3 separate regions of the Homo sapiens genome follow, and regions 2 and 3 are each linked to region 1. Evidence: promoter capture Hi-C in human tissues and cell types (Jung and others, 2019). All regions are on one chromosome and are shown on one strand. Each heading gives the region's core, a stretch centred on a gene start or on the middle of the fragment in contact. The rest is flanking DNA. Distances are from core to core; before and after follow the strand shown.

Region 1 (4,336 bases), core at 28-2,527:
AGACAGGTGGATCACCTGAGGTCAGGAATTCGAGACCAGCCTGGGCAACATGGTGAAACCCCCGTCTCTACTAAAAATACAAAAAAAATCATCCGGGCGTGGTGGCACGCGCCTGTAATCCCAGCTACTCGGGAGGCTGAGGCAGGAAGATCGCTTGAACCGGGGAGGAAGAGGTTGCAGTGAGCCGAGATCGCGCCATTGTACTCCAGCCTGGTCAACAAGAGCGAAACTCCGTTTCAAAAAAAAAAAAAAAAAGTGTAAATATAGTACTAGCTTCATTGATATGTCTTGCTGCTTCTGGGACTTTAGAGAAGCGTATAAGAAGAAAGTGTGTGTGCCTTTACGTAAGGGAGCATATGAGAGAGAGAGAGAGAGTGTGTGTGTGTGTGTGTGTGTGTGTGTGTGTGTGTGTGTGTGTCAGAGAGAATGTTCATGGCAGGAGGAGGGGCGGTGAATATATGAAGGGAAGTTGGGAAAACCCTTCCCTTTTTGTGCACTCCCAGGGCAGCAGCCGCAACCCCAGAATGAGGAGAGGACTTAAGAGCAGGCACAAGGTTCGCTGCCATGACTGATGTGAAGCGACCTGACGCACAAGCGGAGACTTTTCTCCTTGGCAGCCAACAACCTGCAGCAGGCAAGGCGGGCGGGGGAGGAAACCCCGAGGAGGCGCTCCCGGCCGCCTCTTTGCTGAGATAGCAGGAGCAGCAGCCTGAGGAGCCACGAGCTCAGCGTCACTGAGCTAGTGCGGGTGCAGGGGCGCTCAGGCAGGCGCACAGGCCGGGAGCCGCTTCTGCCGCTCAGGCGGCCGCGCTGCAGAAAGCCGCGCCGCGCTGCCCGAGCGCCCGGGGCTGGCCCGCGAGCGGGAGGAGCCGGCAGCCGCGCTCCGCCCCGCGCTGAGATTCGTGCCACCTGCCTCGAACACCACGGAGGCGAGAGGAACCCAGAGAGCTCGGCCTCTCGTCCCGTTCTCGAAAAGCAGCCTATCGTGACGGAGCCGGGAGAAGGCTAGCGTTTCAATCCTGTGCAGGACTGGGATTTTTCTTCTCATAATTTGGGGGAGCCGGAGTAGAGGTCAGAGGGACAGGCGAGGATCTCAAAAAGAGACCGAGGGTTGTGAACATGGTTACCCCCTCCTATCATTGGAAAATCTCCTTGACATTTTTCACACTTTGAAGCAGCTGCAGCTGGTGTCGTCGGAAAAGGGGGTGGGAAAAAAGAGAGGGGGCGGGGAGAGCGGTGAGACACAGCCAAGAGCCATGAGCGGCGCCTCCTCGCCTGCCAATCCTGGCACCTGTGCGCCGAGCCACTGCACCGAGGAGGACCCTACTCCGGGTGAACACCGGGCTTGAAGCCACGGACACCCAGCCCCAGTGCAGCGGGTTCTCGCCGGCGGGACCTGCAGCCGCCCACTCGGGCCACCGCCACCGCCTCCTGCAGTTGCGGAGCGCTCAGCCCCTCCGAGACGCCCGCTGCGCCCTGGCCCCTGGGGATCCTCGCCCTGCACAGGCGCGGCAACGGGCAGGGGTTGTTACGGAGTTGGGTGCAGGATTCGCCTTTCCTGCTTGTCTCTTCTCCGCCCAGGATTTATTGTCTGTGGAGCCTTCTGGGGGCGGGGAGGGAGCTGCGCCTCCGCCACCGCCGCCGCCGCCGCCGCTGCTGCTGCGGTCGCTAGCGCGGCGCGCTGGGCAGGCTGAGGCTGGGGAGTGGACGCGCTCCTGCCTCCCCCGCCGGCGCTTCGGGCTTCCCCTCAGCCGCTTCCCGCGGGAACCTCTCCAGCCGTCCACCTGAAGGGCACTGGCATCATGGTCTAACGTGGCACCTTCCTGGATTCCCCTCTATCTCCTGTTCTTCCTACCTTCTACTCCTTCCCTCCTCTTCTCCTCCGAAGACCCTGGCGCCCACTCCACTGCGGACCCCTGAACACTTAAGGAATAACCCTTGGCAGCTGCACGACTACGCTCTCCGAAACCTCATGGGCAGTTTCTCCCGCCGGCGATGTGAGTAAGGCACGCTCGCTCCGTGGCGGAGGGTGCTGCGGGGGCCCGGCCGCGGCGACCGTAGGCGCGCGAGGTGTGGGACCCCAGAGGCCGGCCGGGGGCGGGGGTGGCAGGGCGGGAGGCTTCGGCGCTCGCGGGGAGCTGCTTGTGCGGTGGCCGAGGGAGGCGGCGAAGATGTGGTAGGTTGCAGAGCATTTGGAAATGGGGTGCTAACTGGGCGGGTGCATGGGAGCACCGAGTAGCTTGAGCTGGCAAGAGACCTTAAAGGGTTACATACTGCGAAAAGGAAAGGTAAATGTTGGGCGCTGGTGCTGGGACCATTGGTTCCGCTGAAATTAGGTTTAGCTCCTCGTTATTATCTTGGGTATCTCCAGTCAGCTTTTTTCCCAGAGGTGTCTGAGGGATGAAGCGCGTGTTTGATCGTGACACACACACACACACACTCACACACACTTGTGGCAGGACGCACTTGTCTCTTTATCTTGGAAGGTGTTGTATCAATGTCTCGATGTCTGTTTGAAAAAATACAATTAGAAGATTTTTATGTGATTGGGATTGAAGGGAAAGGGTGGGGTTTGGGGGGATGGAGGGGACGAAGGAACATGAAAGACTGGAGGACGGAAAGAAGTGGGGGAGCGTGTTCCCTGGGAGTCAGGGAGAACCTTGCCTCCCTCCCTGTCAGCTAGACAACTCCTGCCCACACATCTCCTTTGTGTGGCACGAGAAGCTGGTGAACCTGCCTATTCCCAATCCAGCGCTGGGTCCCCTTGAGGATCTTGCGTCCTCCTCTCCGAGTTATTAAGGATGCAGGACGTGTTTCGGATTCGACGTGGAAAGAGGGAGGGAAGCACATTAGCATTAAGGTAATCATGGCACCCTGGCTCGTGGACTATTAGATTGGCTACCAGTGGTCTCTAATCTTACTGTTTGCAGAGTCAAGAATGGGGGCGGGGGTTGGGGGACTGTATAGATTGCCTTTTAAAATAGTGTGACTTCATAATAACGGAGATGGCTGAAAGATTGCTTCCTTACACTACTTCTCGGCCATCAGGGCTGAATAAAGGACCCGCCTCCGCCCTCTACTCCGGCTCTTCTCTGGCTGTCTCTTCCCCATCAAGTCATAAAGCGAGCGGGTTGGGCGAGAGGGCACAGCTCGAGGCAGAGAAGAGACGGGGTCACTTTCACAACTCCCAGGAATCGGCTTCAGAAAGGAACCATCTGCGACTCCCACGTTCCTTTCGAAGTTCTCCTTCAAAAGGAATTACAAAAAAAAAAAAAAAAAAAAAAGCGATGGGGGTGGGGATCGGTAAGACACAGGGGTCCTCCCCCTGCTCTTTTCAATTACTTTCCCAATACTCTTTCAACACATCGAATTTACCTGCAGTGGTAACTGGGTCAGCAGGTAAATAGATTTGTATCTGTATATGTCGAAATGTGGCTCTCCTGGTGGATGAAAAGCAATTTTTTGTGAGCATATTCTAACCTAGGCGAAATTTCTAAGCACAATAGAGATTTTTATAGCGTGGGCGAGAAGAGTGCATTCCAGCGAAAGCAGGACACGTGATCCCTCCAACGGGTGAGATACAGTATTAGGAACTCGATTTTCTTTGTTCCAGCCTGAGCCTATGAGATGTTCAGCATCCTGGTTGCTTAAGTCCTCCTATAGAAGGAAAATAATAATAATAATAATAATAAAGTTGATCGGAGGCGAAATAGAGGGAAAATAAGCACAGGTAGACATGCGTGAACGGTTTGAAAGCTTCGCCTCTGCCTTTTTTTACCGCCCACCCTTCACCCCCACCCCTTGCTCCAGCCAGCCCCCTATTTTAAAATGAGGCATTTCCTCTGGGAGACGGTGGAAAAGTTCTCCAGCCCCTGCACACGTGGGTTCTCCAGCACTTCAGAACCTGCTGTGATTCGCAACAGATTACACCACCTTCCCAGTCCAAGTGTCACGCCTCCGTCCAGGCTTCCTTGAATTGGCTTCCAGGAAGGACTCTAAGGGAACTACCACGAGGTGTTTTTTGTTTGTTTGTTGTTTTTTGTTTGTTTGTTTTTACAAAAGACAGTAAAGCAATGAAGTCTTTACTTTTTAGAAATCATTGATTGCACAGGGGGAAAAATGAGCAAATAGGGATGTAGGAATGATTTTATGTTTCCTTAAGAGTCATATGGCTAAAGTATATTGGGGGTGTGTTTAGTGATTGAGTTTGGACTTCTGAGGTGTCTCAGGCCTGTGGAAAATGTCCTGAGGTCAGAATATTTATTAATTTAGTGGAGATATAACTTGTTTATGACCCAACATTTAGAGTTACCTGACTTGGAGATTTCTTATTTCA
Region 2 (4,166 bases), core at 1,356-3,855, 83 kb after region 1:
TTTAGTGTCTGTCTCTTGGTAATTGTTCATAAATTAACTATTATTAATTTGTATGAAAATAATACTCGAGGTGTTATGAAAAGGGAATTGTATGGTTCTGTGGGAGTCTATAAGAGGAACAGGGAGATCTCCTGAGGAAGGCCTAAGAACGACATACTCACTAGATGAGCAAGGGTGGAGCCTATTAATCCTGAAAACCAATTATTGTCCTTCTTCTGCCTTGCTCCATGTCCAGGGAGAAGACCTATAGCTGGTTTCTGGCTGCAATTAACCAGTGGGAGACACTGGTTGGAGAAGAAAGAGAAATGGGAAAAGCCAGAGTATTTCTCTCCCACCACAGGGGCCTTCACTAGCAGCAGCTACATATCCTCCATCATGTTTTTGGCTCCTGCCCAGTAAGCCTACTAAGGTTTCAACCTCTGCTATATGAATCAAGGCCCTGGGCTTCAGAAACATGCCTCTTCCTGTTTACATACATACTGGCTTCCAGCTCTTGCTACTCTCTGCCCTCTCTTGGGCTTCTCAGCTCCTCCACCTCCTGTGTAACCAATTTCCTTGCACTCAGTTCTCTCTGTGACAAATATTTGAAGTGGTTTTTGACTTTTAGTAACACTGTGAGACACTAGGTAAAAACAGGTGATGAGATATGTTGTAGACAGCACAAATAGTATATTTAAAGGTATCACTATGAGAAAAGGCAAATGGGATTGTATTTTTATGGATTCTAGAAAGCTACCAGAAAATGTTGAGAAAATATTCTTTTGAGAAAGTAATCATGTGCTGACACAGAATTAAAGATTTTTTAAAGATTTATTAAACATTACGATGCAGTTTTTCAAGATTTCCCATTCTCTAAAATGTTATTGCTATTGGAATGTGAACATACAGATATTGTTAGATTCTGTCTCACTCACTATACACTTCAGTACCTGGCTTCACCACTCACCAGTTACATGACGTACAAGTTACTTTACTTTTTGTTGCCTCAGTTTATTCATACATAAAGTGGAAATTATAATAGTAACTTATTTACTTCATAAAGTACCTACAATAGTGCCTAGTTACAGTGAGTATTCTCAAATTGTTAGTTCTTGTTTTATTCTTATTTTTTTCCCTCAATTTTGAAGGGAGAGAAAGCTATGGGAAGTGAGGATGATATATGTGCTTTGCCTAACCAAGATTTTAAGCAGACCTACAGTACTACGGAAGAAAGGAAGTGAAATCTGGAAATGTTACTAGGCTTCAGATTTTGAAGATTTGTGTATGACATATAAAAGGTAATTAAATATCTAGAGCATTCAAAAATATTCTGGGATTGCTTTAGATAATGAAATTGGAAGGAAGTGATAATAGAGATTAGAAGTAATTTGGGAAGTTCTGGTAACCCTCTAGGAAAGATGTCAACAAAGAGACCACTAGCCCATATGGCACCTTTGCTAATTGAAAAATGACTCCCCTTCCTCCATGCACATGCAATTCCATGCAAAAGTATATGGTTTGGTAGACAGGCTCCTAAGCCTGGTTCTTTTACGCAGTTCACAAACTGCCTCCAGCTTTTTGTGCAAGCAGCTTTAGACATTACAAAACGGCTTAAGGGTGGTAAAGATGGCTTAAAGAATCAAAGTGATTGAAAAAAAAAAACCAAAAACACCCTCACAGGATAATTCTTGGCCTTCAATGACAGTCGCATAAGGATTAGGCTCACTCCTCAAGGAGATTTAACAGATATGAATACTTTATGGATGATGACAGGCAAGCATGCGATAAGAGATGGTAAGATACAGTTAGAGAATCCATCAATGTTTTCCAAAACAAATATTAATTTCAAGTCAGTGTGACTCTTTCTTCTAATGAAACTCAAGGACATAGCACAACAGTAATAATCTTACTCCATTATTAATTTTCTGGTTTTTTCTTCAAGGAAAATTATTTCCCTGGCACATATTAATTTTATTCCTTATAAAAGAAGAGCAAATTTGTTTTTTAATATTCTTTGGAATATTATTGAAAAACATTTTCATAAAAAGCCAAGCATCAGCCAGGCGCGGTGGCTCACGCCTGTAATCCCAGCACTTTGGGATGCCAGGACGGGTGGATCACGAAGTCAGGAGATCGAGACCATCGTGGCTAACATGGTGAAAACCCGTCTCTACTAAAAATGAAAAAAATTAGCCGGGCGTGGTGGTGGGTGCCTGCAGTCCCAGCTACTCAGGAGACTGAGGCTGGAGAATGGCGTGAACCTGGGAGGCAGAGCTTGCAGTGAGCCGAGATCGCGCCACTGCACTCCAGCCTGGGCGAAAAAGAGAGACTCCGTCTCAAAAAAAAAAAAAAATGCCAAGCATCTTTGGCATTTGTTACACAAGAATACATTGCTTCATACATGTAGCAAATATTCATTAAGCATGCATTATAGGCTATCTGTGAAGTCTTTGTCTGTGTTTGATACACACGTCTTTAAGCTTTGTATAAAATTAGTGTTTTTAGCCATAGCTTCCTAAACAAAATATGTTGTGCAATTTCTTATAATCAGAAAATCTTAATCATTTCTTTTAAAATATACTCTGAGTGCTTCAAAATTTTCAGATACTCCTTGGCAGAATTTGGGAGCATATTGCAAGCATCATTGGTTTGGCACTGTCGATAGCTTACCTAATTTACTGGGTATATTTTAGCACATTTTTCATTTGATTATAGCTGCCACTGATATAAATGCTATCCTCACATGAAAGTTACAGCAGTAGTGACAAGTATAGATGTCAATTTCAAAATTATGGACTGAAGCATCGAGCTAAATTATTCCCTGAGACAGTTTGGCATGTCTAGATTAATGAAAATAAGTGACGAATGTCAACTCTTTCTAATTAGGTGACATGCTGGAGGTACCATATGAATACAGCTTAGTTTTGGCATGAACTTAGAAGCATAAATATGTTAACTTTTCCATATTTTATTCATATACTGTATAAGTAATTTCAAATCTGCATATTTATTTAAAGATATATATTTTTAAAAACATTGTTTTCTGAGGCAAGTTTAACCTGGTTTACAAATCATCCTATGGTACTGATTAGAAAAAAAAAGTGCACTACATTTGAAGCAAGAGCAACTATAACTTTCTCTATAGTTGAGAGCAAAATTACGCATCCTTTGGGACATAATGGACCTTTGCAAATCCAATTATATCTGCCAATTCAAAGAGTTTTCATTTTGTCTTGCTGTATCTACCAAAGTTATTTTTAAAAGCACTGGCAGATAAAATTAACATAATTTATTTAAAAGTTAAAAGCACTGTGGGAGTACTGACATCAGTAAAATGACATAATAAGAAGTCCTAGCCCCTCCACAGAAATATTGATTAAGCAATAATACATGGAGCAAAATACCTTTATGAGAATTCCAGAATCCAATTAAAAAGTTGCAGTATCCCAGGTGAGCACAAAGCTGGGAACACTTGCATTAAAACAGGTAAGAAGAGCAATTTTACTTTACCTGCATCAGCCCATTCCCAACACCAAGAGAGAATGTCCTGGCTCCCTGCTTCTCGGTCAAGGGAAAAGAGAAGAGTGGAACATGCATGTAAAGTTCTAGCTCTTTGGAGGGCTGTCTGGGGGACTGGTTTCTGTCAGTACCTCATTCAGAGCACTGACAGAACTGGCAGAGTTTGCATTCCTGGAGGCCCACTGAGAACAAGAAGAGGAGGGCATGGCTTGGTCCAGTCAGCATGACTTGGTGTGAATAGAAAAGGTACACAACTTGAAGCTTCTCCTTCAGGAGGAAAGGAGAGGAGTGGAGAGTGTATCCTGCATTTCAGCTCCTGGAATGGCTACCCAAGCAACTGGTAATAGTCTTGCCTTACTTAGGGCCCTGATTAGAAGCCAGAATACTTTGGATTTGGAGTTCAACTCTCCTTACATCTCAAGGAACTGTTCAGAACAATTAGGCAAGAAAAAGAAATAAAGGGCATACAAATAAGAAAGAGGTACAATTTTCTCTGTTCACAGATGACATGATGTTATACGTAGAAAACCCTATTCACAAACTGTTAGAACTAATATATCAGTTCAGCAAAGTTGCAGGATACAAAATCAACACACAAAAAATAAATTACATTCTGTACATTAACAATGAATAATTCAAAAAGGAAATTAAGAAACTAATCTTATCTA
Region 3 (4,547 bases), core at 446-2,945, 81 kb before region 1:
GGATGATTCTAATGTTCGTGCTAAACTATTTTCTGAACTTTTCTATTCTTTTAAATCCATAATTACTTATTGAAAACCTACTAAGTCATCTACCAAAGGCAAATTTTGTTACAAGGACCTGGTAAGTACCCAGAAATACATGTTATTATTTTCCTGACATTTTCCCAGGGCCTGGAAAGTGACTTTGATTGACCAAAGATTGTCTCAAGGGTGCTTTAAATATAAAAAGAATTCATCAGCCTATACAGATGTCTATCACGTACAGGTAAAACTAGGTACATTGCTTTGCTTATGCTCATCAGGAAACAATCTAACCTTGGTCTCTATTTTTTATTAGCAAGAGTGATATACAATCCTATGGACACATGTTCTGGCCTTTTCTTGAATCAAATCAACAAACAGCATGATTTTGGTAGTTGAAAAAGAATCAATGAAGTTTGAAATATTATGCTAATGGTCCCATTACATTATGAATAATGGCCTTATTTTCTTCAAACTAGAAAGAAAATAAATTTTCTCTAGATGGGGAAAAATAATTTACTATTTAGGAAAAATCACAAACCACAAATTCCTGGTTTCCAGTCAGGCATATAAAGAGCTTAGAAGTCACCACTCTACCCTAACAAGTGAAAAGCTAAACAAACTGAGAAATCAACAACTCTTCTTACATCTATCAGGGATTTCAGGTCACTCAATTCAAACACTGCTACTCCCAAAATTAGAGAGACAGACAGGCAGATACAGAGAATCACACTTCACTGGAGCAGAAACCCACGGTAGGAACCTCCACATGAACTACTGAAGAAGTAGGAAAACTAAACTATAATTGACCACTTGCTGGAGGCTTGATATGGACAAGTATGAGAGTTAAAAATCTCAGGTAGACGTAATCATAGGACAGCCTTCATGCTTTAGTGAGTTTTCCCTCCAGGAGACCTACCAGGTCCTCACAATGAATGTCAGGGAAAAAAAAATCCCCTCCCTGCTTCTGTCAGGGAGAGGAGAAAAGGAGCCATTTTATTGTTTTTTGGGTTTTTTTGTTGTTGTTTTATATATATATATATATATATATATATATATATATATATATATATATTTATTTATTTATTATACTTTAAGTTCTAGGGTACATGTGCACAACATACAGGTTTGTTATATATGTATACATGTGCCATGCTGGTGTGCTGCACCCATTAACTGGTCATTTACATTAGATATATCTCCTAATGCTATCCCTCCCTCCTCCCACCACCCCACAACAGGCCCTGGTGTGTGATGTTCCCCTTCCTGTGTCCAAGTGTTCTCATTGTTCAATTCACACCTATGAGTGAGAACATGCAGTGTTTAGTTTTTTGTTCTTGCGATAGTTTGCTGAGAATGATGGTTTCCAGCTTTATCCATGTCCCTACAAAGGACATGAACTCATCATTTTTTATGGCTGCATAGTATTCCATGGTATATATGTGCCACATTTTCTTAATCCAGTCTATCATTGCTGGACTTTTGGGTTGGTTCCAAGTCTTTGCTATTGTGAGTAGTACTGCAATAAACATACGTGTGCATGTGTCTTTATAGCAACACGATTTGTAATCCTTTGGGTATATACTCAGTAATGGGATGGCTGGTTCAAATGGTATTTCTAGTTCCAGATCCCTGAGGAATCGCCACACTGTCTTCCACAATGGTTGAACTAGTTTACAGTCCCACCAACAGTGTAAAAGTGTTCCTATTTCTCCACATCCTCTCCAGCACCTGTTGTTTCCTGACTTTTTAATGATCGCCATTCTAACTGGTGTGAGATGGTATCTCATTGTGGTTTTGATTTGCATTTCTCTGATGGCCAGTGATGATGAGCATTTTTTCATGTGTCTTTTGGCTGCATAAATGTCTTCCTTTGAGAATTGTCTGTTCATATCCTTTGCCCACTTTTTGATGGGGTTGTTTGATTTTTTCTTTCAAATTTGTTTAAGTTCTTTGTATATTCTGGATATTAGCCCTTTGTCAGATGAGTAGATTGCAAAAATTTTCTCCCGTTTCGTAGGTTGTCTGTTCACTCTGATGTTAGTTTCTTTTGCTGTGCAGAAGCTCTTTAGTTTAATTAGATCCCATTTGTCAATTGTGGCTTTTGTTGCCATTGCTTTTGGTGTTTTAGACATGAAGTCCTTGCCCATGCCTATGTCCTGAATGGTAATGCCTAGGTTCCTTCTAGGATTTTTATGGTTTTAGGTCTAACGTTTAAGTCTTTAATCCATCTTGAATTAATTTTAGTATAAGGTGTAAGGAAGGGATCCAGTTTCAGCTTTCTACATATGGCTAGCCAGTTTTCCCAGCACCATTTATTAAATAGGGAATCCTTTCCCCATTTCTTGTTTTTGTCAGGTTTGTCAAAGATCAGATAGTTGTAGATGTGTGGTATTATTTCTGAAGGCTCTGTTCTGTTCCATTGTTCTGTATCTCTGTTTTGTTACCAGTACCATGCTGTTTTGGTTACTGTAGCCTTGTAGTATAGTTTGAAGTCAGGTAGCATGATGCCTCCAGCTTTGTTCTTTTGGCTTAGGATTGACTTGGCAATACGGGCTCTTTTTTGGTTCCATATGAAATTTAAAGTAGTTTTTTCTAATTCTGTGAAGAAAGTCTTTGGTAGTTTGATGGTGATGGCATTGAATCTATAAATTACCTTGGGCACTATGGCCATTTTCACGATATTGATTCTTCCTATCCATAAGCATGGAATGTTCTTCCATTTGTTTTTATCCTCTTTTATTTTGTTGAGCAGTGGTTTGTAGTTCTCCTTGAAGAGGTCCTTCACAAAAAGGAGCCATCTTAAAATACACCAGAACAGTCTATTCTTCACAAGGCCTGCTCTCAGGAGAAGCTATTTTACCAGAACCTAATCTGCTGGGGTTTTTATCAGAGTCTGACCTACCTAGGGAAAAGAAAATGCCCAACTCAAGTTCCCGCTAGGCTTCCAGGTGGGAGAAGAAAATAGCCAGTTCTAGGCCCTCTAGCCATCCTGTCCTACCTAAGAGGGGAGAAACACTGAGAAGCACTTGAGAAGTTCATAGTTCATGAGCACAGGCTCACCAAAAGACTGAAACCTAATCATAGGACCACAGTATGCATCCCTTTCCTTCACACCTTAACACTATTATCAAAGTCTCATTCATCACAATTCCTTTTACCAGAACATCATGCACAACTTCCAACAAAAAATTACAGGCATACTAAAAAGGGAAGAGATGGAACATGAATCAGAACCAGAGTCAGATACAGCAAGAATGTTAGAATTGTCGCATCAGAAATTTTTAAAAATCTGTGATGAATATGTTAAAGAATTTAATGGAAAAAAGCAGACAACATGCAAGAACAAATTGGCAGTGTAAACAGAGGCGAAAATTATAAGAAAGAATCTAAAAAAATGCTAGAGATCAAAAACACTAACAGAAATGAAAAATGCCTTTGCTGGACTTACTAGTAGACTGGACACATCTGAGGAAAGAATCTTTGAGCTTGAGTGTATTACAATAGAAACTCCTGAAACTGAAAAGTGAAGAGAAAAAAAAAAAAAAAACTAGAAAAAAGAACAGAATATTCAAGAACTGTGGGACAACTACAAAAGGTAATGCTAATGTGTAATGCGAATGCCAAAGGACAAGAAAGACAGAAAGGAACTGAAGCACTATTTGAAGCAAGAATGCCTGAGACTTTCCCCCAAATTAATGTCAAACACCAAACCACAAATTCAGGGAGCTCCGAGAAGACCAAGCAGAAGATATGTTTTAAAAAAACTGCACCAAAAAATAAATATTATATTTAAATTTCAGAGAATCAAAGACAAAGACAAACTCTTGAAAAGAGCCAGAGGAAAACCACACCTTACCTATAGAGGAGCAAATACAAGAATTAAATACAAGCAAGAAATTAATAGAGTGAAATATTTGAAGTGTTGAGAGAAAACAAAACAAAAAGTATAGAACTCTGTTACCCTGCAAAATTACCTTTCAAAAGTGAAGGAAAAATAAAACTTTCTCAGGCAAACAAAAGCCAAGGGCATTGTTGCCTGCATTGCAAAAAATGTTAAAAAAAATTTCTTCAGAAAGAAGGAAAATAGTAGAGGTCAGAAACTCAGATTTACATTTAAAAAGGAAGAACATCAAAGAAGGAATAAATGAAAGTAAAATATTTTCCATTTTTTATTCTTAATTGACCTAACACATGACAGTGTTTAAAATAATAATAGTAGCAACGTATTTGATTATATATTTTATATATGTATATGTAATTTATACATATTTAAATATTTATATATGTCTTACATATATACATATACATATATACACTTATGTATACACTTATATATAAGTGAAATGAATGACAGCAATAATATGAGAGATAGAAGAAGGAATTAGTAATACTTTGTTTTGATAAGATACTTGCACTATTCATGAAGTGACACAGTGTTGTTTGAGGGTGGAGTTGGATTAATTGTAAATGTATATTGTAAACCCTAGAGCAACCACTAAAAATTTAAAAAAGAAATATATAAT

The links. The method cuts DNA at HindIII sites, captures the fragments that hold promoters and counts their contacts. A contact is called where the count stands out against the background at its distance.
Region 2: a fragment that was not itself captured here is called in contact with the fragment with the promoter of LRRC7 in region 1 in 2 of the 25 tissues and cell types used here (dorsolateral prefrontal cortex and hippocampus).
Region 3: a fragment that was not itself captured here is called in contact with the fragment with the promoter of LRRC7 in region 1 in 2 of the 25 tissues and cell types used here (adrenal gland and aorta).

The regions. Positions count from the first base shown.
Region 1 is chr1:69,566,645-69,570,980 of GRCh38, forward strand. It overlaps LRRC7 (leucine rich repeat containing 7), which reads left to right and starts at 1,278. Exons shown (of 27, transcript NM_001370785.2): 1 at 1,278-1,997. The coding sequence starts at 1,996. RefSeq lists a silencer at 702-931. The HindIII fragment of the contact is 6,759 bases long and covers 1-4,237 here.
Region 2 is chr1:69,648,223-69,652,388 of GRCh38, forward strand. All of the region lies in intron 1 of LRRC7 (leucine rich repeat containing 7), which reads left to right. Among named protein-coding and RNA genes, the nearest start is that of LRRC7, 82 kb to the left of the region's middle. The HindIII fragment of the contact is 3,341 bases long and covers 936-4,166 here.
Region 3 is chr1:69,485,202-69,489,748 of GRCh38, forward strand. All of the region lies in intron 1 of LOC105378789 (a long non-coding RNA gene), which reads left to right. Among named protein-coding and RNA genes, the nearest start is that of LINC01758, 54 kb to the left of the region's middle. The HindIII fragment of the contact is 9,481 bases long and covers 1-4,547 here.